7 separate regions of the Homo sapiens genome follow, and all the other regions are linked to region 5. The links are contacts of gene promoters, found by promoter capture Hi-C in blood cells and fetal thymus (Javierre and others, 2016). All regions are on one chromosome and are shown on one strand. The core of a region is centred on a gene start or on the middle of the fragment in contact, and the rest is flanking DNA. Distances in the headings are between cores, read along the strand shown.

Region 1 (2,877 bases), core at 271-2,770, 1.2 Mb before region 5:
AAGCCTTCTCTGCTATTGTTTTGCCTTTGTCAGTTGATTTTCAGTGAAACTTCAAAGTGCAAATAGGTCATTTCCCTTTGGCTCCTACATCTTCAAGGCAAGCCAGCAGATGGGCGCAACGTACATGAGTTGCAGTGGTGCCTAGTGGACCTGAGCAAATCTTCCAACTATTAGTTTTATTTTTTAAGGCTGCTGTTTCACTTCTACTTCTCAGTTTTTGCAAATGTCATTTGTGGCCCATACTAACTTGGAATTATGCAGTGAAGGGAAGTCTGAAAACTGTGGTTACACCTTAGCTAAGTTGACATGATATAAATCCACCACAGGTACTCAATATTATTTGTTAAATAAATAAATGATGCTGATATTAGTGACCTTATCATAGTATCATGATCCTTCTCCTAGAATGGAAAGAGCCCTTCGGACCCATTTAACCTCTAGTAACTTCTCAAGGAGCTTTATGTGTGAGTTTTGTCCTGCAGATTTTGAGGGTATTAAAATTTTACTGTGAGTGTGAAAGGAAAATACGGGACCCCCAAATCACTAAGCCAAACAGAAAAGTCAAGCTGGGAATCACATCAGGCAAACCTACCTCCCATTTTATTCCTAAATAAGATAGCTACAAAAATACAAAGTATATACCTCCCTCACAATTTGCCCACTAGGAAATTCCTTGTGGACTTCAAGATCTTCACCCTATGACAGTTCTGTTGAATTTTACTCTGACAGTGAAATAGACAGCTTATCTTTACAGGTGCAGGACAAAGGACAGAACTCTAAGTCATCCCTCTGATCACTTGAGACAAACACATATCTGATTGTTTCCTCTGATGTAAAAATGCTGATTCAGTGAGCCAGATGACAGCATAAGTGTCTATTCCTCCACACCACCGACATGTAAATTGTGTATTCAGTGAAAGGCTGATCAAAGATTCAAAAGAATGCAACCATTTGTCTACCCACACCTTTTGAAAATTTCTTTCTCTTTCCCAAATACCCACTCTTTCACCTTTAAACATTGAAGCCCTCAAAACCATCTTTGGAGAAAGGCACAGACCTGCCTTTCAGGCGTGCATCCTTAACCTTGGCAAAATAAGCTTTCTAAATTGATTGAGAGCTGTCTGAGATACTTTTTGGTTTCCATGAGGTTGGCATGTTATTACTAAAACAATAGACATGAATCAGATATATTAGACATAATGCTATAAAAAGAAGCCTGAATCATGAGAATTGGCTATAACTTTGCTTTATAATTTACCAAATTACAGAGGATTGGTAAAGGAGATTACCAAGTAGTGATCATTATTGCTTCATATTTACCCTCAAACTAATATAATTACAGATGTAGGTGAGGAAAAAATCGTTTTCTCTATCCATCTTAGATTCTTCAGCTGGGGCTCTATAAATTAGACTGTCCAAAAACAGATTAACAAGAGAAAAACAAACAATAGTTTATTAGTGAAGTGGCATCCTTGTCTGGGGTAAATACCCGGGGTTCATCATTTTGCACTAAGAAGATTAAGAACATGGACACATGTGGGTGGGTTAAGGAGCAAAAAGTTTAATAGGCAGAAGAAAGAAGAGAGGACAGCAGCTATCTGAAGTGAGGTGTCTGAAAGGGAAAAGCCAGCCTGCAGCAGATCACAGCAGATTTTATAGGCAGGCATGAGGAGGCAGTGTCTGATTTACATAGGGCCACAGATTGGTTCTACCAGGTGTGACGTTTACATAGCGAGGGGTGGGGCCAGGGAAGGCTGGTTGCACCACCCTAATCTTATTATGCAAATGGACTTTCCACTTGGCCAGCGTCATCTTGTCTGCTTCTTACTGTACATGTGGCTGGCAAAGTGAAGGGAAGATGGAGCCGCCATTTTGATTATGCCTAGTCATAGGTAGCCTTTTCCTACTGACACAACTGCTAACATTCACCCATGCAAGCTTCCAGCTTGCATATGTATGTCTGCAGCTTGATTTTACAGGCTGCTCTTTGTTAGAAAAGAAAATGATTTGGGGGCTGCTTTTTATTAAAAGGAAAACCTTCCTTAGCCTCACTATCTGCCTAAATAATTTCTTTTTAACTCCTATATCATTAACACATGTGTTGTGCTTACACACGCGAGTACCCAGAGATGAGTGACCTACGGGGGTGGTTAGAATTTAGGATTATATACCATCTTAGACTAAAGAAAAAGGGTTTCATGTTGTGGGTGGAAGGAGGCAAGTTATGGGAAGGTGACAAGAGAAAAGAATGGCAAACAAGGGTTGTTTATTAAGATTTGTTTGCAGATTTAAATTGGTGCTTTCTCCATTGATAAGAGTTAAGAGTTGTTAAGAGTCCTCCTCTTCCTGGTATGAGGGAGACACCTCTATAAATGGAGACTTCCCCAGTAAAAGGAAAATCTGTGCTTTATTTTTAGAGCTTTTCCTGCTGCTGGTTTTTAATGGCTTTTAGCTCAAAATAATCCATAATCCAAAGAGGCATATTTTAGGGTGGCATACTCTGGTATTCCTCAGAGATTACCTGGCTTGTGAATTAGCCAATTTTGTTTCTTCATTGTCTATTTATCTCTTCCATTTACTGATTGCCATTTTATTCATTCATGTAGAATGAATGTAGAATTCACGTAGAATGAATGTACATGAATGATTTCATGTAGAGTTTCTGAAACACATAATATACTGTGACATTAAGAGATTTTGTTCTGTAGATTTTCCAGGGACCAACAGTTTGAAGTAGAACAAGAAACACCGTTGCTGTTGATTGCTTATATTGAAGGACAATATATGTTTCATCACAGCAGCTCACAAAAATGATTTATTGCCATAGTATCTAAACAACGCTCTGTAACCAATAACTTTAGTTTTTAGATAAACGAT
Region 2 (2,705 bases), core at 19-2,518, 1.3 Mb before region 5:
TTCTGTGATTTGCAAGCCAGGCATTATAGCTGACCTAAGTACCGATATTAGAAACATCCTTCCCATGTTACATTTCTTCTTATTGGGTAGTTGTGGCTGTGATCTCGGCTGACTGCAACTGGGGCTTTCCATTTCTAGTTACTCTTTCTTATTTCAGAGTACTATTTCCATTTTAGATGTGACAGAGTTTTGTCTTGGCTCTTAGACCATTTGTTTTCTTATTACTATTGTATTTAGATTTCTTCTTAGAGTTCTCAGAAATAATTCTGCATTACTTATACTTTTACCCTTTACAATTTCAATCATATAAAAATATTTAGGAAGGCATTAATTTCTTATAAACAATTTTTTGCACTTTTTAAAGTCAAAATAGTTGGAGTTGTTTAATACAGCAATGTGTAAAATTCAAAGCTTAACTTCAAAAAGATTTACTAAGCATTGGCATATAAACATAATTCCTATAGTTATTTACCTACTTGTTACTTGCCGCTATTTGTTGATAAATTCTTAGGTATGATTTTACCACAATCACTACATTCAACAGTAGATTAGCTGAAGTAATCACATAAAAACCATACCCAGCTGAACTTAAGAAGGCATATCTAACCGTTTGACATATGTAGAATAAGACATATATAAAACATCCTAAGAATCGCAAATTTTAATACCAATACTCTTTAAAAACTCATGGCTGTTTTAACCATTTGCCGTTTACTGATAAATTTTGATACACAGTCGACATGAGATTTTATTATTATCTAAATTTATAGTGGCAGTAGCTGTATGCTGACCGAACATTCAATGAAATATTCCACTATTTCACACATTATTACCCTTGATTAATATGGCAGCCAAACTCAGAATTTTTGTGAAAAACAACAGAATTTGTTTTGACATTATTTTCATATGAATCAAAATTTCTGGTAAAGAAACCATAACAAGTCAATGTTAAAATGCTAAATGATTGAAGTGCAGTAAAATATATATGCAAGACCGGGCATGGTGGCTCATGCCTGCAATCCCAGAACTTTGGGAGGCCGAGGTGGGCAGATCACCTGAGGTCAGGAGTTCGAGACCAGCCTGGGCACATGGCAAAACCCCGTCTCTACTAAAAGTACAAAACTTAGCCAGGCGTGGTGGCATGCGCCTGTAATCCCAGCTACTTGGTAGCTGAGGCACGAGAACCACTTGAACCCAGGAGGCGGAGGTTGTAGTGAGCCAAGATTGTGCCACTGCACTCCAGCCTGGGTGACAGGGCGAGACTCCATCTCAAAAAGAAAAACAAAAAATAAATAAATAAAAAAAAAACGTATACAGCAAGAGATGCAAAGTCATGTGCCATTGTGAATAAGCAAGTCCTTTTCAATATTAGGCAGAACATCAGGCTGTTAGAGACCAAGAGTGGTGGGATTGGTAATATCATCCACAGGGTTAATATTCAGGTAGTATACACAAATTAGGAAAAGGCAGGGCTAATATTCGGGTAGTATACACAAGGTTTCGTCTGTGCCAGTTGTTAAAGAGTGAAGTACATGTTAACACCTTGTTCATCTCAGCCCCTTCCCTGTATCAGCAGACCTCTAGAGCCCTTTTCCCAACAGTCTGGTCTGTGCTCATTTTAATAGGTCATTGTTTATGCCATACCAGTTGTAAAATATTTTTGTATCATCTCTGGATCAAAGTGTTAATAGCATTTTTAGGTTAGTATACTTTATACTATTTTTTCCAACAAAATGTTCTCACTGTTAGTAAGCACATAACAATGCAACTTCAGGATCGTAATTGATTTAGTTGATTTCTTGTATTTTTGACAGTTCCTCTGTATTACTGATATACACCTCTGAAAGGTGTGGGGAGGTAGGTGTCAAGCACCGTCCTCAAACCCTTACCCTCAACAATGCTAACCTAATTCCCTATAATCAGGAGTAGTGGGAGGTGCCCCAAAGCATTTTAACACCCATCTCACAAACAGATTGCAGTTGGGCAATCCTGCCCTTTATATAAACAGTTACTGATTCTTACTTTGGAAAGAGCTTGGCTGCGTTTGAGATAACATCACCAGCTTCTCAGTTCACAGCAGGAACTCCTCCTACTCCTTTGGTCTGACAGGGACAGCAGAAGCTTCAATTCTTCTACCACTTCTCATAATCCACAAAAACCTGTCAAAATCCACTCTCTTCTCCCATCTCACCACTCCCTGATCATATCCCACTAGCCACTTTGGTGTTTTTTTGTTTTTTTTTTTTTTGAGATGGAGTTTCGCTCTTGTTGCCCAGGCTGGAATGCAATGGCAATGGCATGATCTCGGCACAACACAACCTCCGCCTCCCGGGTTCAAGCGATTCTCCTGCCTCAGCCTCCCGAGTAGCTGGGATTACAGGCATGCGCTACTACGCCCAGCTAATTTTGTGTTTTTAGTAGAGACAAGGTTTCTCAGTGTTGGTCAGGCTGGTCTTGAACTCCTGACCTCAGGTGATCCACCCGCCTCAGTCTCCCAAAGTGCTGGGATTACAGGCGTGAGCCACTGCACCCAGCTGCCACTTTGGGTTTTTAAGATAGGACAATTTAAATAAATGAGAAAAAAATGAGGGAAAAGTTAAGGAAGATGTACTTAGTGACTGTTAACCAAAATTAAATTCTTTATTTAGTATACATCTGCCTATGCCCATTACCTGATTCAAATTCACATGAACATCCCTGTGTCT
Region 3 (3,007 bases), core at 353-2,852, 1.2 Mb before region 5:
TGAACATAGAAAAAATTAAACCTGTTCTCTGTGATGCAGAACTTGGGGTAAAGGGATAGCCCACCATTCCCGCTGCCATGACCGTCACCAAAGTTCTTTCTTATTCCCTTTTCTGCCTACACTATTCATTTGGTATTTACCACATTTTTTTAATTATCATTTAACTTCTCAATCATTTGTTTCTTCATCTTTATCAGGAACGTGTGAAGAACAAGATTCACTTGGTATTCTATCTTGTGGTGAGAAAACCTCATTCTCCAAATGTCAAAACCAAGTAAACAAAGGTGCTTTAGTTACTTACACACTTACTAAACATAACACATAAACTGAAGCCCAGAGTTCAAAATTTTCCCACCCTTCATGAGGGCGTATATGACAGAAGCTTAGCAAAATGTCATCACTCAGTTTCTGGAATTAAAACAACTGAGCTGTTTGCCACACCCCACAGCTTGGCATGTAGTCAGGAATTCAGGAATGTCAGCCTCCACTCAAATTAAGATGATGCAAAACAATTGCATTAGATGGTGAGGAGGTCTGCCCTCTTCCTACTCAAAATGCCTGGGAAGCAGGAAATACAAGTTCAATTAAAACGGCCTTTCTGGAGCAGAAAAGTAATTGTCTCATGCCAGAGACAAGTGAATAAATATTATTGATGATTCTACAATCAAAGGAGACTTGGCTTTTGTTATTGTGACAGTCATTTGGCTGCCGCCTTGCAAATCAACACAAGTTAATAGATTGACGATGACTGAACAATTACAATGAAAAAAAACTTGCTTTTGATCCTTACTAGGGGGAAAAAAGAAGCCAAGACATGTTCAAGGTGGCAGCAGTTCAGAGTTCTCTAAGAGGCAAATACAAGTTATCTACATTAGAGGGCATTTTAGTCAATGGTGAAGATTATGCTGAGTATAAGGATAGCAACATCTAAGGATAAGGAACCTCAGTACCCACTTGTATTTTGAGCTGGCGTGGTGTCCTATTTGCAGGTAATTTCCCACCGTGATGATTCCTTTTGGAAGGCAGTATCTTATTTCCCACTGCAAAGGGCAAAGAGGATAAGGAACAGCCTGGCGGCCAAGCAGTTACGATGATTTAGTTCTCTCAACTGGATTTTCCACACATGGTTTGGAATCTTTACTTCGTGGTGCATACAAGAACGATAGCAATTCATTCTCAACAGCAGTGCCCACATCTGGGCCAGATGAGATGCTAAGAGATGCTGCTTCAGACAAGCCTTCTATTAATATAGTGAGCTCTTGATATCCTTAAAGTATACGTATTTAAGCTATCCACAGTATGTTTCTGTTACTTATTGCAAAACAACCTCTTAATTGATACAGAAAGCAAAGCAGATAGACACAAACTAAATATCCCTGGGAAAATATGGAGAAAATGGGATTGGTTGTCTGGTCTGAATGCATCTAGTTGAAGTTCCCTAATATTTTGGTTTTGGAATTCAGTAATCCATGACAAAGAGTTGTGAAAACTGCTAATTAAGTCATCCTGTGTACTGCTAATTATGTCATCCTGTGTGCCCTTGGGAACAAAGTTTGGGAGACAGCATTGTTGCCACCAAAGTATGGTAGCAAAAATGGAAGACCTGTATGGTGGCATGACTCTAGTAGAATTAGATGGTGTAAAGGGAGGGAATTTTAAACCCAAATATCTAAATTCAAGAACCAGAAATCAGATCTATAGGTGGTTTTCGCCCACCTTCCATGAAGCATCTCCTACCTTCAAAAGCAGATTTCTTTTTCTTGTCTGAGAGTTCTTTCTCCATTGCTTGAGGATTATTTTGTTGCCGCCTCACCATAGTGATTTCCTTAAAGAAACAGTCCATTACCCACACGTCTCTCTTATCCCTACTTTGTCCACACCTGTCACTAGAGTTTGGTGTCAGTATAGCAAAGGGAATAAACTACAAATTAAAAACTTGCAAGTTTGGTTGATGTCATATACATAAAAAGAGTCAAAGACTTGCTAATTTAAGTTGGAAAAAATCTGGAGGGTGTGTGTAAGAACAGATTTTAGGGTGCTCATAGAAGGGCGAAACATTTTTAGATCACTAATACCAGTTGCTAAGATAAAATTCTCCTGCCATACTGTGAACACTGGTACTTATATAACTTCGTTAAAACCTTCCCAAGTGTGTTTTGAAGAAACTAATACAGTTAATCATCATCTCCAAGTGACTATATAAAGACATTTGAAAAATTATAAGTTTAATGTATTATGCAATTTTGGATATTTTATCAACTGTTCTTTTTTTGTTTCCTCTATCTCCTTCCCTTAGCTGCCTACACTTTTTTCTTTTCCATGACAACTATTTGTGATATAGTCAGTCTGATTAGATTATGAGAAAAGATTAAGAAATTCTTAAATGTACCTTTTAGAATTTTCCATTTGATTGTCTAAAACTGAACTCTTTTCTCCTACTTACAAGAAGCTGAGAATGAAAATGTCAAAATTAGTCTTCATATACTCATCAAACACTTATCTTCTAGACTTTTCCATTACTAACTCACTTTTCTTTTGTAACAAATTATTTTTGTTTCTTCCCAACTAGTTGTTGCCCTGAGCAATGGCCGTAACACTCATGCCTTTCGTAAATTGCCCTTAATCATAATTCTCTGGCAACTGTTTTATAAAAATCAGTAGTATTTTTTCCTATAGATGTAAATAATAGTTGTTTAAATAGTTTTGTGTCAATAGTTGCTTTCATGAAAGGAAAAAAAAATTGGCCTAAAATACACAAAGGGCCACAAGATGACATAACTATATTGGTTTTATTTACTCAGGGAGGAAAAGAATAAGCTTTCATGCTCTTTTAAGGATTAGAATGAAAGCAAAAGTAGGGTGAAACTATGGGAAGAAACCTCAGAGGGTCAAAAGAACATAACCTCCTGGAAAGTATTAAAACAGCTATACATAATAAATGGGTTATAAGTGGCTACTATCCATTTGGTTTTAAACAAAATGCAAAGGCAATATTAAAAATACTACT
Region 4 (2,919 bases), core at 160-2,659, 1.2 Mb before region 5:
ATGGTTGTGCCACTTACTCAGCTATTGTCTCTCAGCTCAAACCACATTTCTATAATTGCTTCATGATCCTGAAGCTGGAACTCTGCAAACCTTATTTCTGCTTTGCCCCCTGATTTCCTGTTATGCTCTGCCAAAAGGGGGCACAAGACGGAGACTAGGACTGGAGGAGAAAGAAGGAACCTGGTCTTTCTTATTTACTCCTTGTTGACTTCCTGTCCGTTTGCAGTTCCTGTAAGCATCATTTTGGCAGCGCTTCTTCACCCAGGCAGGAGTAGTAATTCTGTATGCAGTAGCTGAATTCAGTTAACAGTTTTTTAAACACTTGTGAAACAAGCTTCACTGTGTCACAGTTAACAATCACCAGCATCTGCTAACAGTATCCTGTTTTCTACAGTCTGGGTCTCAGCCCCTTGGGACCGCTCTTCCAAGCTCAAAGACACCAGAATCTGTTGAGCAACTGAACCAGTAGCCCTCCTCAAAGCCCTGAGTTTCAGTTATGCAAGACCCCTCCTCTAAGTTTCTAAATTTTAATAAATCCAATCATGTCCCTTAGTTTTTTTAACCATAAGGATGGTATCTGCTTCCTACATTTGCTGCCTCCATGATACATTAGCGTCCTCTTTTTATCTTTTCAGTTCCTAGTTCACAACTTCATACCTGGTTGACAATTATTTACATTACATTCTCCCTGTTCAAAATCTCGTATGTTTTCCATCCTCTCACCTGACCCTGATGGAGACAATGGTCGTAGACGAACTGTGGGAGTTTTGTATTAAGTGTATGATAGTAGAAACCAAGTTTTGTGTTTTTAGAGAACAAATGTTAATTCACAGCTACTATATATATATATATATATATCTCCCTAGAAGGATTCTACGAGACAGAGAGGATGAAGAAAACCAAGGAGTGAGGCTCATTCATTAAGTGTGATTGAATAAAATGTGTCCATAGAGCATTGCCTTCACCACAGAGAGACTCCAGAAACCTCTTTGCATGTTTTTTTTCTTCAATGTCATAAATTCACATCTCCACAGCAGTAGCAGGATGGATTTTCTTGATGTAATCTGCCTAATAATGGGTTGTTTGTAGAGCCAAGGTGTTTCAGTGACCTGGGGTTATTCTGGAAGCTGCAATTACCTGCAGAGAATAACCGCTGAAATTCCTACGTGGAGAAATCCAGGGAAATGTCACAGAGGTGCATCTTTGAAATGGCCATGTTCGTACACTATGGTTGAGGGCAGGATTTCACGATTTACAGCAGTGAGATAAAATTCCTATGTACAGTGACTGTGGTCTTAACAGCTTCTTTACTTTTGATATTCATTTTCTATAAAGTTTTATGGTTTTAAAATTTCAAGTTAACCATTAAAGCTCAACTATGTTAAATAATCATTAAGAATCAAGCTCATAGCTCTTCTGAAAATCAAAGTGATTGGAGAACTACCTTTTTAACTGTGTTCTAGTGAAACAAGCTAATTGACCTGCTTATAGACACAATTTCTTTTGTGCAATTAGCTCAAGGTTGTATCCATTCACCTGGAATCCTCTAGAAGTAAGCCCTATTAGACTTCTTCAGTTATTGATGATTTTGGATGTAATTTCATCTGCTTTTGAAAAAAGGTTACTAAACATTTCAGATATATTCTTCCTGTCTTACAAAAGTAGACACAGTGCAGCATCGAATGTATTTATGTCTGTGATACATACTAATTTTCCATAAAGCTATGTTTGGGGGTTTTATGTAGATTATCTTATCAATTGCAAATAATGACAATTTTGTTTTCTTCCCTACCATTTTCCACTTACTTCTTCAGCTCTATTGCTTCCAATGCAATGTTGTATAGAAATGGTGAGAAGGAGCATACTTATCTCACACCTGATTTTATGGGGAATAATTTTAAAATTTCACTACTGAGTATGTTGTTTACTGCACTCTTTTGATAAATCGCCTATATATCTATTAGAATTCAGTTCAGGAAACAAAAATCACTCTAGATGTTACAAGGAGGGAAGAATATAACAGGCACTTGAAAGGTCATTGGAAGAGCTGGAGGAGAGCATTTTGGGGATAAGGGGTGATGCTGAAATTTCATTTCACAGTCACCTACCTCAGGTGTCATCATAGGTCATATAAGCAAATTTGCTGCCACTGTCACAGTTGCCTCATACCACAAATATAGTACCCAAAACAGAGAATAATGAATGAACATATGTTACTAGTTCTTATTTGTTAGTAACTTTTGCCAAAGGAAGATGCCTCTGCTCTTTTATTAGTCAGCATCCAGAACAACCACAGAAATTACTTTAACACACGTGATTCCATACAAATATTTTAAAAGTAAGTGGTTGTTAATGTAACTCAGAAGAGGAAAAAAATATAAAAAACCATTAAGTTGTGGAAATAGCAATCGCAGGCAGCAGTGACCACTCCTAGCCTTAGTGAACAAAGAGAAGAAGTTAGAATCACTAAAATTCAAAAGCTTTGTTGAAGAAACTTGTGGAGGTGAAACTGACATTTCAGTAGATGAAGCTGGTTGGCTGGTGATCAGTTTCTTTGAGGAGGATTTAGTTAGGCCATTTCTACACATTTTGGGGGAAAAAAATCCAGCTAGATTGAACTGCAGCTAAGGAAAGGAAGTGCCTCCCCTATGGTATAGGAAAGAGTCTTGTAGCAGGTCTGATGTTCCTCTTCGAAGGGCTTGCTAATCCTTGGCTGGTGTCTGAAAACTTGACTTTGGAATTTTCCTTTTGTTACTAAAGAATCCGGCTGTCTTGTATGCCTCAGGCACTGAGTCCTCCTTGCCTATACTGTGCAAACAGTGTGATTGATGGTAAATACCTGCTTTCCTCCTAGGAGTCTAGAACTTTGATAATCATTCCTGGCTACACCGGGAGAAAGTTCTGATGTGACCTGTCCCC
Region 5 (3,057 bases), core at 471-2,970:
TGATATACCGAACTGTAAAAATAATAGATTTGAGTTGGTTTAAGACACTAAATTTGTGGTAATTTGTTAAGGCAGAAATAGAAAATGAATACAACCTATTTAGTTCAATCTTAATTCTAAAGGCCTTCTACTCTGAGATCACATAATCTTTACCTGCTTCTTGAACAAATCAGGATCTTGTTAGCAAGGAGAAAGGAGTGAGTGGCAGGGAGAATCCCAATGACCAGTGCTTGTCACAGACGGCTAATCTTAATCTGGTTTAAGTCTCTAGTTCTGTCTCTCAGAATTCTACCTCATGCTTTATGATCCACCACTTTCTAATCTATGGAATAGATGATCTCTTGCTTCTGTGCTCTTGGTAATTGAGTTCCGTCTGCCTGGAACACCTCCAGCCCACTGCCCATTACAAGTAATACTTAAGAACTAAGTGCTTGAATTCTTCACTCCTTATAAGAATCTTATTGAACAGCACTCACTATAGACACACACTTTTTATATTTCGCATTATGAAATACTTAAAAATGCGCAAAAGTAGAGAGAACATTACAATGGATCCCTATCAACCAGAATTCAGCTTCCATAATCAAAATTCACATTGATAAGTCAGAAATAACCAGCAATGTATTCCCACAGCAGGCTGACGTGTTGTCAACAGGGATGGTTTGATTTATATCTAAGCTGAGAAAATGGATTCAATTCTCCAGGATCTTAGTTATCGTGAACTCTAACAGCAAAAATGACAAAACCACTCTCAGAGGAGTCATTAAGTGCTACCAGTGACCAAGATGCGAGAAAAATCCTACTTCAGACTAGAACCTGAACAGCATGTCACAAGCGTCCTAAAATGGCTGTCACGTTACAGGACTTGCCCATAAGGTCAATTTTGGCCACTTAAGACTTACTTGAAGAGAGAGCTAAGGGTTTTCTTTTTAATTTCGTTTTTGTTTTTGTTTTTAATGGCCCACGTCAGTGCTAGCAATAGAGAAAATGTGTCCCTGATCCCTTGGATAAATCGAATTGACTGAAGAATGCTTGAATTCATTTATCCCAAAACAAAGGCAGACGGCTGAGGGTCACTGGAGTTTCAGGGCTGCTCCCAGCGTTGGAGCACGGACGCCAGAGCCGACTTCCCTCAGGCCCCGCACTGCGGCAGGGACCCTTCTACGGAGGATGGCTGGGGCTCCGGGAGGCTATAGGAACGCCATCTAGAAGCTAGATCTCAGGCAAACGAACGCGCTTTAAAAGGAATTAAAACGAAAGAACACAAACTCGAATCCTGGACCTGATTAGGGGCACGACCAAAGAAAGAAATAACTAACGGTTCTCACCCTCCCTTTCATTCCCTCCCGCGGAAAGAGAAAGGCTGGAACTCCGCTTCCCAGAATGCAAAGCGCGGGGCGGGGCTAAAGAGATAGCCTGTTTTCCCTCAAGTAGGATCGCGGGACCACAGGTTTGATTATAAACGCCAGTCTCTCGCCACGGCGCTCCTCCCCCTCAGTCTCACTGGTCCTGCCGGCCGTTGCGTGGAAGGGGGACTCAGTCGTCACTGGCAGCGGTTGAATGGAGGCTCTTTGCCCCGCGCCCTCACGGTAGATGAAGTCCTTGCTTTGGTCAGAGCGATAGCTTCTCCGATTGCCTCAGAGCAAGCGGACTACATTTCCCAGGGGGCTGCGGGACTGCCGGGAGGAGTGGGGGCGGTGCCTCACGTCTGGTACAGTCATCACAAGCCTGTTCGGCGGGACTGTGATGGCCAGAGAGATGACGATCTTAGGTGGGTTCCCGGGGGTCCTTGTTGCTCTTGCGGGCGTAGAGGCGATCTGAGGATGCCAGAGTGGGCAGGGGTGGTTGACTCACCTCCTGGATCTAGCTGGAGCAGCGGAAGGGGAGTCAGAAAGGTGACTTAGAGACGGTTTTCGGCTGTTCGGAGTGGATGGGGGCGGGGACGCCTCTAGGAGGGCCCCGGCCCCTGCAGGCCAAGGTAGGATAGACGGCGACCAGCTGTGTCCATCCCAGGGACATCAGGCTTAGGGAGGCGTTCCTTTCAACAGCACCTAGGTTTTTGAATTGCCTGTTGAATTGGGGCAAGCTATGGAAGGCTGCGAGAACGTGCACCTCCAGGACCCCTTTGTGGAGGAAGGGGGAGGAGCTACATCCGGATCTGTCGGCTCAGGGATGCTGAATTTGGAGGCTTTTTCCATCACATCGGGTTTGGAATTACCTATCCCCCACCCACACACACACCCACCCCGCGTCTCCAAGGTGATGAAATGCTTCTGAAATGTTGCCTGTAGCTGGAAGTGGAAAGTGGGATTCGCACTTGGTTTTATTTCTTTGAGTTATGTGTTGATGAGGATGAGCTAACAATTAGTAACACAGAGCCCTGAAAATTCATGTTTTGGGTCATATGTAATATGAGCGGACACAGGTGTATAACACAGCCTCCTGATACCAAATACGAGATTCATTAAAAACTAAAGGGGCATCTTTCTTCGCTTATGTTTACAATCTGCGTGGCATTTGTTCCTACTCTTTTTTCTTTTTTTTTTAAATTAGTATTTGTTGGGCATCTGCTATTCCTGGTCTGGGGGATACAACAGTGAACGAAACTTGTCTTCAAGAAGCTTTCATAGATGTTGCCGTCAGGGTTGCCCACCTTTATGCTTCTTCTCCCCTAAATATTACCACTGCAAGAAGGAAGTCCCTAGTTCATACTTAAATACATAAAAAGTTAACTGTGTTCTGTTTTGAAGTGACAGTTTCATATCTAAGGAACTTTCAAAATCATTTTATCCCATTTATTCATTTCATCCTTTTGAAAGGGAAAAGGAGGTGAGATACGAGGAGAGAATTTTAGACTTATAAAATAATAAAGTTTTTCTTGTGAGAATTTTAATAATGGAGCTTTTAAAAAAAGATAATCGAAGCTTTTTATAAAGCTGTAAAATCTAAATATCAATTGATCAAGAATATTAGATTATATCTGGCTTTTGCTCCAGATAAATGTTGTTTCTTGTCAGCATCTGCACAAATATTATTGAAATATTTTTACATTTTATT
Region 6 (2,700 bases), core at 157-2,656, 1.4 Mb before region 5:
AAGAGAAATAGAAATACGTCTCAAAGACCTGCTTACAAATGTACACATAACATTATATATGGGTCAAAAAACTGGAAAAAAAAAAAAAAGTACATCAAAAGGTACATGAATACACAGATGTGAGAATATTTATATAATATTACTCCATAGTAAAAAGAAACATATTGATACATGCAATAAAACATGGGTGAATCTCAAAAGCTTTTTGCTGAGCAAAAGCAGTCAGATGCGAGAAAAAAAAAAAATTTGGTATAAACAAATCGATGTGAAGACCCAGAACAGCCAAAACTGATCTACAGTAATAAAAATCAGATCAACAGTTGCCTGAAATAATGACGGTGTTGATAATTAATGAGAAAGGTGATACAGGACAAATTTTGTGGAGTGACAGAAATGTTCTGTATGGCCAAATTCATCAAATTACACACTTTCAGTGTAAATCATACCACGATAACATTAACTTGAAAAAAGTCAAGATAGCAGTAGTGTGGGGGTGGGGGGTGGTGTAGAAAAGAGGGACAGTATGAATGAGGAACAAAGGAAATTTCCAGGACAATAAGATATTCTATTTCATGTCTAAAATTGTACAAAGAATACTAATCTTAATATATTTAAGTTGTACATAAGTTTTCATATGCTATGGTTAGCCCCCACAAAAAAATCCTATAGGAATTATTCATACACAAATACACACGCACATACCAAAAAAAAAAAAAAAAAAAAAAAAAAAAAAAAACAGCCAGAAAGAAACAGGAAGATTACAACTTTAGCATGTACAATCACTTTCCAACTCCTTAATCCATCGATTCAACTTATTTGTGCCTCCAGGAGTAAGAGGGGCAAGTATCCCACCTAGCCACCTGAAGCTTTGGGTTTCCATAGAGATGTTGGCCAGAAAAGCCTGAGGGAGGAGACAGCTCCTCTACAAGGAAACATGTTGCTGCACTGATGGAGAGAAACACCTGAAACAAAAAAAAACAATGTCCGTTCAAAGACCCTGCTTCCATATTAAATTTGGTGTATTGTGATAATTCAATCCCTAAAGGACCCCTGCAGTCAATTTACACAGTGCTCAAGGCACTTTTACCTTTAAGAATACTAATTAACTTCAACCAGTGATCCTCAAACATTAAGTGCAGAAGAATAATCTGCGATTCTTATTAAGCAGGCTTTAGCCCAACCCTCAACATCTTGAAACAATACGTCTAGGGTGAGGCACAGAAGTCTGCACTTTTAGCAAGCACTACAGATAATTAAGACAGTCCATAAAAACCATATTATACGAAACTGATCTAAACCTATAGTAACAAGACTAAGGAAAATATTGCTGGGCATTTAAAATATCCAGCAGTTCAGAGAACCAAAAACTAAAAATAAAGCAGATGGTCTGTACTGAAGCAGAGTTAATCAAGGGGCAAAAAAGAGAAAAACTGAAAAATTACTTACTACATACATAAAACAAGATGTCATGACAAGGATGATGTCCTTGGAAATTAATTAAAGTCTGCCAAAATAAATGCAAGGCCTCATCCTTTTATAAATTCAACTTTCACATCATCTACTTGCTCACATTATATAGTGACATTCCTAAACTCACTTTCACAAGCCAAATTTGGTCCTTCAAACATAACAAAAATCAGTGATTATATTGTAGGAAAAAGGCAGGCCACTGCTGCAGGTCAGTGCTTAAAGCAATTCTATGACATTAGAGAGTAAAATTATGCCAGTGTCAGGGGAAGAAAGACCCTGTAGACACCTTACTCTAAGCACATCAGGGCAGAAATCAATTGTGGAGTGGCCCCTGGAGAAGGAAATTAGTGAGGGCCACTAATACAAAAAAAAAGTGCCCTGCCTGACTTCACAGTTCCTAGGATGACAGAGAAGAGACTGACAAACTACCAGCACCCCTCCACCACCACACCCAGGATACCTAGGGTGAAAGCTTAAACAAAGGTCACCAGTACCCAAAGAAAAAATACCTGCAAGCATCACGACTGAAAATACTACAATATCTTTTAGTTAAACAGAACCTACTTTGTAAATCTGCACAACTAACACATGTAAATATTTCAGAAATGCATGAGGTACAAAAGTAGGTAACTGCCTTTTTAGATCAGCAAGAACAAAAAAATACTCATTGTTATCACTTCTAATCAATATTTATTGGAAGTATTTGCTAGTACAGGAAAAAAAATGAAAGTACAGGCACAAAAACTGAAATTATACATAAAACTTTTTAATCATGATGTAGCAGGACGAGCCGCAGACAAAACTCCTCAGAACCGAGTTAAAGGAGGAAGGGGTTTATTCGGCTGGGGGCATCAGCAAGACTCCTGTCTCAAGAGCCGAGCTCCCGGGGTGAGCAATTCCTGTCCCTTTTAAGGGCTCACAACTCTAAGAGGGTGCGTGTGAGAGGGTCATGATCAAATGAGCAAGCAGGGGGTATGTGACTGGGGGCTGCATGCACCGGTAATTAGATCTGAACAAAACAGTATCGGGATTTTCACAGTGTCTGTGCAATGTCTGTAATCTATAGATAACATAACTGATTAGGTCAGGGGTCGATCTTTAACTACCAGGCCCAGGGTGTGGCCCTGGGCTGTCTGCTTGTGGATTTCATTTCTGCCTTTTAGTTTTTACTTTTTCTTTCTTTGAGGGCAGAAATTGGGCATAAGACAATATGAGGCGTGGTCTCCTCCC
Region 7 (2,700 bases), core at 110-2,609, 1.2 Mb before region 5:
AATTTAGATTGTTACATCTTTTTCCCCTTTGTGCTCTAGTTGCAGTCAAGACAATTTTCTTTTGTCCTGTGATGGTATTTTCTGCATACTATTGATCTGAGGCAAATAGTATCTGAGAAAAGAGAGTTTTCTTAGGCTATCGTGCCTTTCATCAAACAAGATAAATCATCAAATGAGCAAATTTGAGGTCTGTCTGGTTGTTATTCTTCACACAGTTTTGCCATGTGGATAGACATTGAGAGAACATGTACTCCACTGGTCTTTAGAGAATTAACAACAATATATTCTCGAGTAAATGTAGGCAAACTTGCCTTCCTGGTATTAGTGAGGCTCCTGGTAAACATTACTGAATAAGACACAGTCATTATCCTTAGGGAGCTCACAATTTAGCACTTGTTTATTGAACTACTGAAACAATTTATAGAACTGAGTTGTTAGTCAAGAAAATGAAAAAGGAGCTACAAACCAGTGTTCACAGAGAAGCAGATTTCCTGCTTTTAAAAAGCAATTCCATATACAAACGTTTGCTGCAATGTAATAAACAAGACTATTGGAAGAGAAAGAAGTAATTTAACTCTTTTTTTTTTCTAGTGGTCTAATCAAGCTTCCACCTAAAAAGAAAGTGTAAACTTTCACCCTTTACAGGAATTTAATTTTCGCTTAAGCTATCCGTGTTGCTTCTTTTTCCTCTTGGATCATACATTACCTCAACTCCAAGTTTAGATAGACAGGCTATTAGAAATCTGAATAGAATGATTTCCTTCGTTCCTTCCTTCCTTCCTTCTTTCCTTCATTCCTTCCTTCCTTCTTATCTTCTTTAATTGTTTTTAATGATTATTAAGGCCTGAAAAAGTCAGAAATGAATTAACACATACCACCTGATTTTATGTATGGTGAGAGAAAAGGAGTGTGTTAAATGTTTCAAGAGAGTATTTACAAAGAGCAATGGGAATACAAAAGAGAAAGAGAGTAGATTGAAATTTGAGTGATTTGTAAACTGGGAACAAAAGCAGATCTTTTTTTTTTTTTTTTTTTTTTTTTTTTGAGACGGAGTCTTGCTGTGTTGCCCAGGCTGGAGTGCAGTGGCACGATCTCGGCTCACTGCAAGCTCTGCCTCCAGGGTACATGCCATTCTCCTGCCTCAGCCTCCCGAGTAGCTGGGACTACAGGCGCCTGCCACCATGCCCGGCTAATTTTTTGTATTTTTAGAAGAGATGGGGTTTCACTATGTTAGCCAGGATGGTCTCAATCTCCTGACCTCATGATCTGCCCGCCTCAGCCTCCCAAAGTGCTGGGATTACAGGTGTGAGCCACTGTGCCCAGGCAAAAGCAGGTCATTTAACTCCAAAACTTTTGCTTCTAGACTTTTGTTATAGGTATGTCTTCCTTTTTTGAGACTCTGTTAGTGGTAGTAATGAGGAGATTAAGTATTAGGTTGGTGCAAACGTTGGCACCAACCTAATAAATTCAACTTTCTACTCACATGTGAGGTGATGTGTTAGGAATATCAAGAGGGAAACCTTTGAAGAGGGAGTAATGTCTGGGGTAAGCATTGAATGTCTGTAGGATTTAGCTCACTGAAGACAAATATCAAGGAATTTTCAAGTAGAGATAACATCATGAGCAAAAAAAAGAGAAAAATATGAAAAGATACAGGTCATTTGGAGAAATAATCCTTTGCTTAACAGGATGGGACATTTTAAACAAATAAAATAAGAGTGAAACCACAAAGTAAGTTTCTCCTGAAAGGAAAAAGGGTGGAGGATGGAGTGAGGGCCGCACAAGTTAAAGAGATGATAATGTGTTTGCATGAGGGAGATCTGATCCTACCTGATGCTTATAAAACAAATTACTGTGAAAAAATTTGCTATTACTAAAACGATCAGAAATACTTGGATGAAAAACAAATGGTTGGAAAATCTAGTGTCATTATAAAATTTACAGTGGTACCACACACACGGCCTGGCAAAATGTGCATACTGTTTAGACTATTCCATCAGAAACACTTCTTCAAAAGTTCCTATACTTTCTGAGATGGGCGGAGTTTGGTATGGTAGGCAGGGAGTGATAAACTGAGGTGAGATTGGAAAATCAGGTTGGGCTCAAAAGCTTTGAAATCCATTCTCAGAAGTTCTAACTTTCTCCAAAAAGCAGACAAATGGCATGATTAATCAGTATTCTAGAAAGAACTTTCAGGCTGAGGTATGGATTGGACAGGGGAGGAGATTGTTAGCAATAAGGTCTATTGGTAGGTTATAGATATACCTGTGAAAAGTGTTGAAGGACTGAATGGTGCTGTTTATAGAGCACCCTTGACATCTGTAACTCCATCTTAGAAAAAGACTCATCTTATGTTTCAGAATGCATCATACCAACAGGCATCATACCAACAGCGATCAGATGTTCGCCTAATCAATAGAGACAGCAATCAATCAGATAAGGACATAACCAGGCACACTCTTTACTATCAATTCAGTCCTCACCAGAAGACTCCGGGGCCATAAGAATAGCAAGACTTCACCAGCTCAAGACGGCCATCTTGATAGACACGGTTATGCTGTCACTTGTGATTAGCACCTGGCATCTGAGGCTGAAGGCTCTGCCCAAATAAAAGACTCTTCAGTGGAAGTCATTGACATCCATCAGGATCAGGCCAGGACACTCTCCTTGTCCATGTCACTCTCCTTGCACTGGTTCATT

What was found. Contacts are between HindIII fragments. The CHiCAGO score rates a contact against its expected background, and 5 or more counts as called.
Region 1: a contact is called between a fragment that was not itself captured here and the fragment with the promoter of HSPA13 in region 5, in 4 of 17 cell types (fetal thymus, total CD8 T cells, M2 macrophages and 1 more). The highest score is 6.8, in fetal thymus.
Region 2: a fragment that was not itself captured here is called in contact with the fragment with the promoter of HSPA13 in region 5 in 2 of 17 cell types (M2 macrophages and M1 macrophages); the score reaches 6.6 in M2 macrophages.
Region 3: a fragment that was not itself captured here is called in contact with the fragment with the promoter of HSPA13 in region 5 in 5 of 17 cell types (M2 macrophages, endothelial precursors, M1 macrophages and 2 more); the score reaches 7.4 in M2 macrophages.
Region 4: a contact is called between a fragment that was not itself captured here and the fragment with the promoter of HSPA13 in region 5, in 2 of 17 cell types (total B cells and fetal thymus). The highest score is 6.0, in total B cells.
Region 6: a contact is called between a fragment that was not itself captured here and the fragment with the promoter of HSPA13 in region 5, in 4 of 17 cell types (naive CD8 T cells, non-activated CD4 T cells, total B cells and 1 more). The highest score is 7.6, in naive CD8 T cells.
Region 7: a fragment that was not itself captured here is called in contact with the fragment with the promoter of HSPA13 in region 5 in 9 of 17 cell types (M0 macrophages, M2 macrophages, naive B cells and 6 more); the score reaches 10.9 in M0 macrophages.

What each region holds. Positions count from the first base shown.
Region 1 is chr21:15,557,041-15,559,917 of GRCh38, reverse strand. The region is part of intron 2 of LOC105369302 (a long non-coding RNA gene); the gene reads left to right. Among named protein-coding and RNA genes, the nearest start is that of USP25, 170 kb to the left of the region's middle. The HindIII fragment of the contact is 841 bases long and covers 1,100-1,940 here.
Region 2 is chr21:15,668,761-15,671,465 of GRCh38, reverse strand. No RefSeq gene overlaps it. Among named protein-coding and RNA genes, the nearest start is that of USP25, 60 kb to the left of the region's middle. The HindIII fragment of the contact is 1,710 bases long and covers 414-2,123 here.
Region 3 is chr21:15,602,064-15,605,070 of GRCh38, reverse strand. The region is part of intron 1 of LOC105369302 (a long non-coding RNA gene); the gene reads left to right. Among named protein-coding and RNA genes, the nearest start is that of USP25, 130 kb to the left of the region's middle. The HindIII fragment of the contact is 2,435 bases long and covers 385-2,819 here.
Region 4 is chr21:15,532,034-15,534,952 of GRCh38, reverse strand. All of the region lies in intron 2 of LOC105369302 (a long non-coding RNA gene), which reads left to right. Among named protein-coding and RNA genes, the nearest start is that of USP25, 200 kb to the left of the region's middle. The HindIII fragment of the contact is 2,146 bases long and covers 337-2,482 here.
Region 5 is chr21:14,381,809-14,384,865 of GRCh38, reverse strand. It overlaps HSPA13 (heat shock protein family A (Hsp70) member 13), which reads left to right and starts at 1,720. Exons shown (of 5, transcript NM_006948.5): 1 at 1,720-1,771. The coding sequence starts at 1,747. LOC105369304 (a long non-coding RNA gene) reads right to left here and starts at 2,100. Exons shown (of 2, transcript XR_007067924.1): 1 at 1-2,100. RefSeq lists enhancers at 1,184-1,313, 1,704-2,013. The HindIII fragment of the contact is 7,322 bases long and covers 1-2,623 here.
Region 6 is chr21:15,738,678-15,741,377 of GRCh38, reverse strand. All of the region lies in intron 1 of USP25 (ubiquitin specific peptidase 25), which reads right to left. Among named protein-coding and RNA genes, the nearest start is that of USP25, 10 kb to the right of the region's middle. The HindIII fragment of the contact is 1,076 bases long and covers 869-1,944 here.
Region 7 is chr21:15,584,085-15,586,784 of GRCh38, reverse strand. All of the region lies in intron 1 of LOC105369302 (a long non-coding RNA gene), which reads left to right. Among named protein-coding and RNA genes, the nearest start is that of USP25, 140 kb to the left of the region's middle. The HindIII fragment of the contact is 1,505 bases long and covers 607-2,111 here.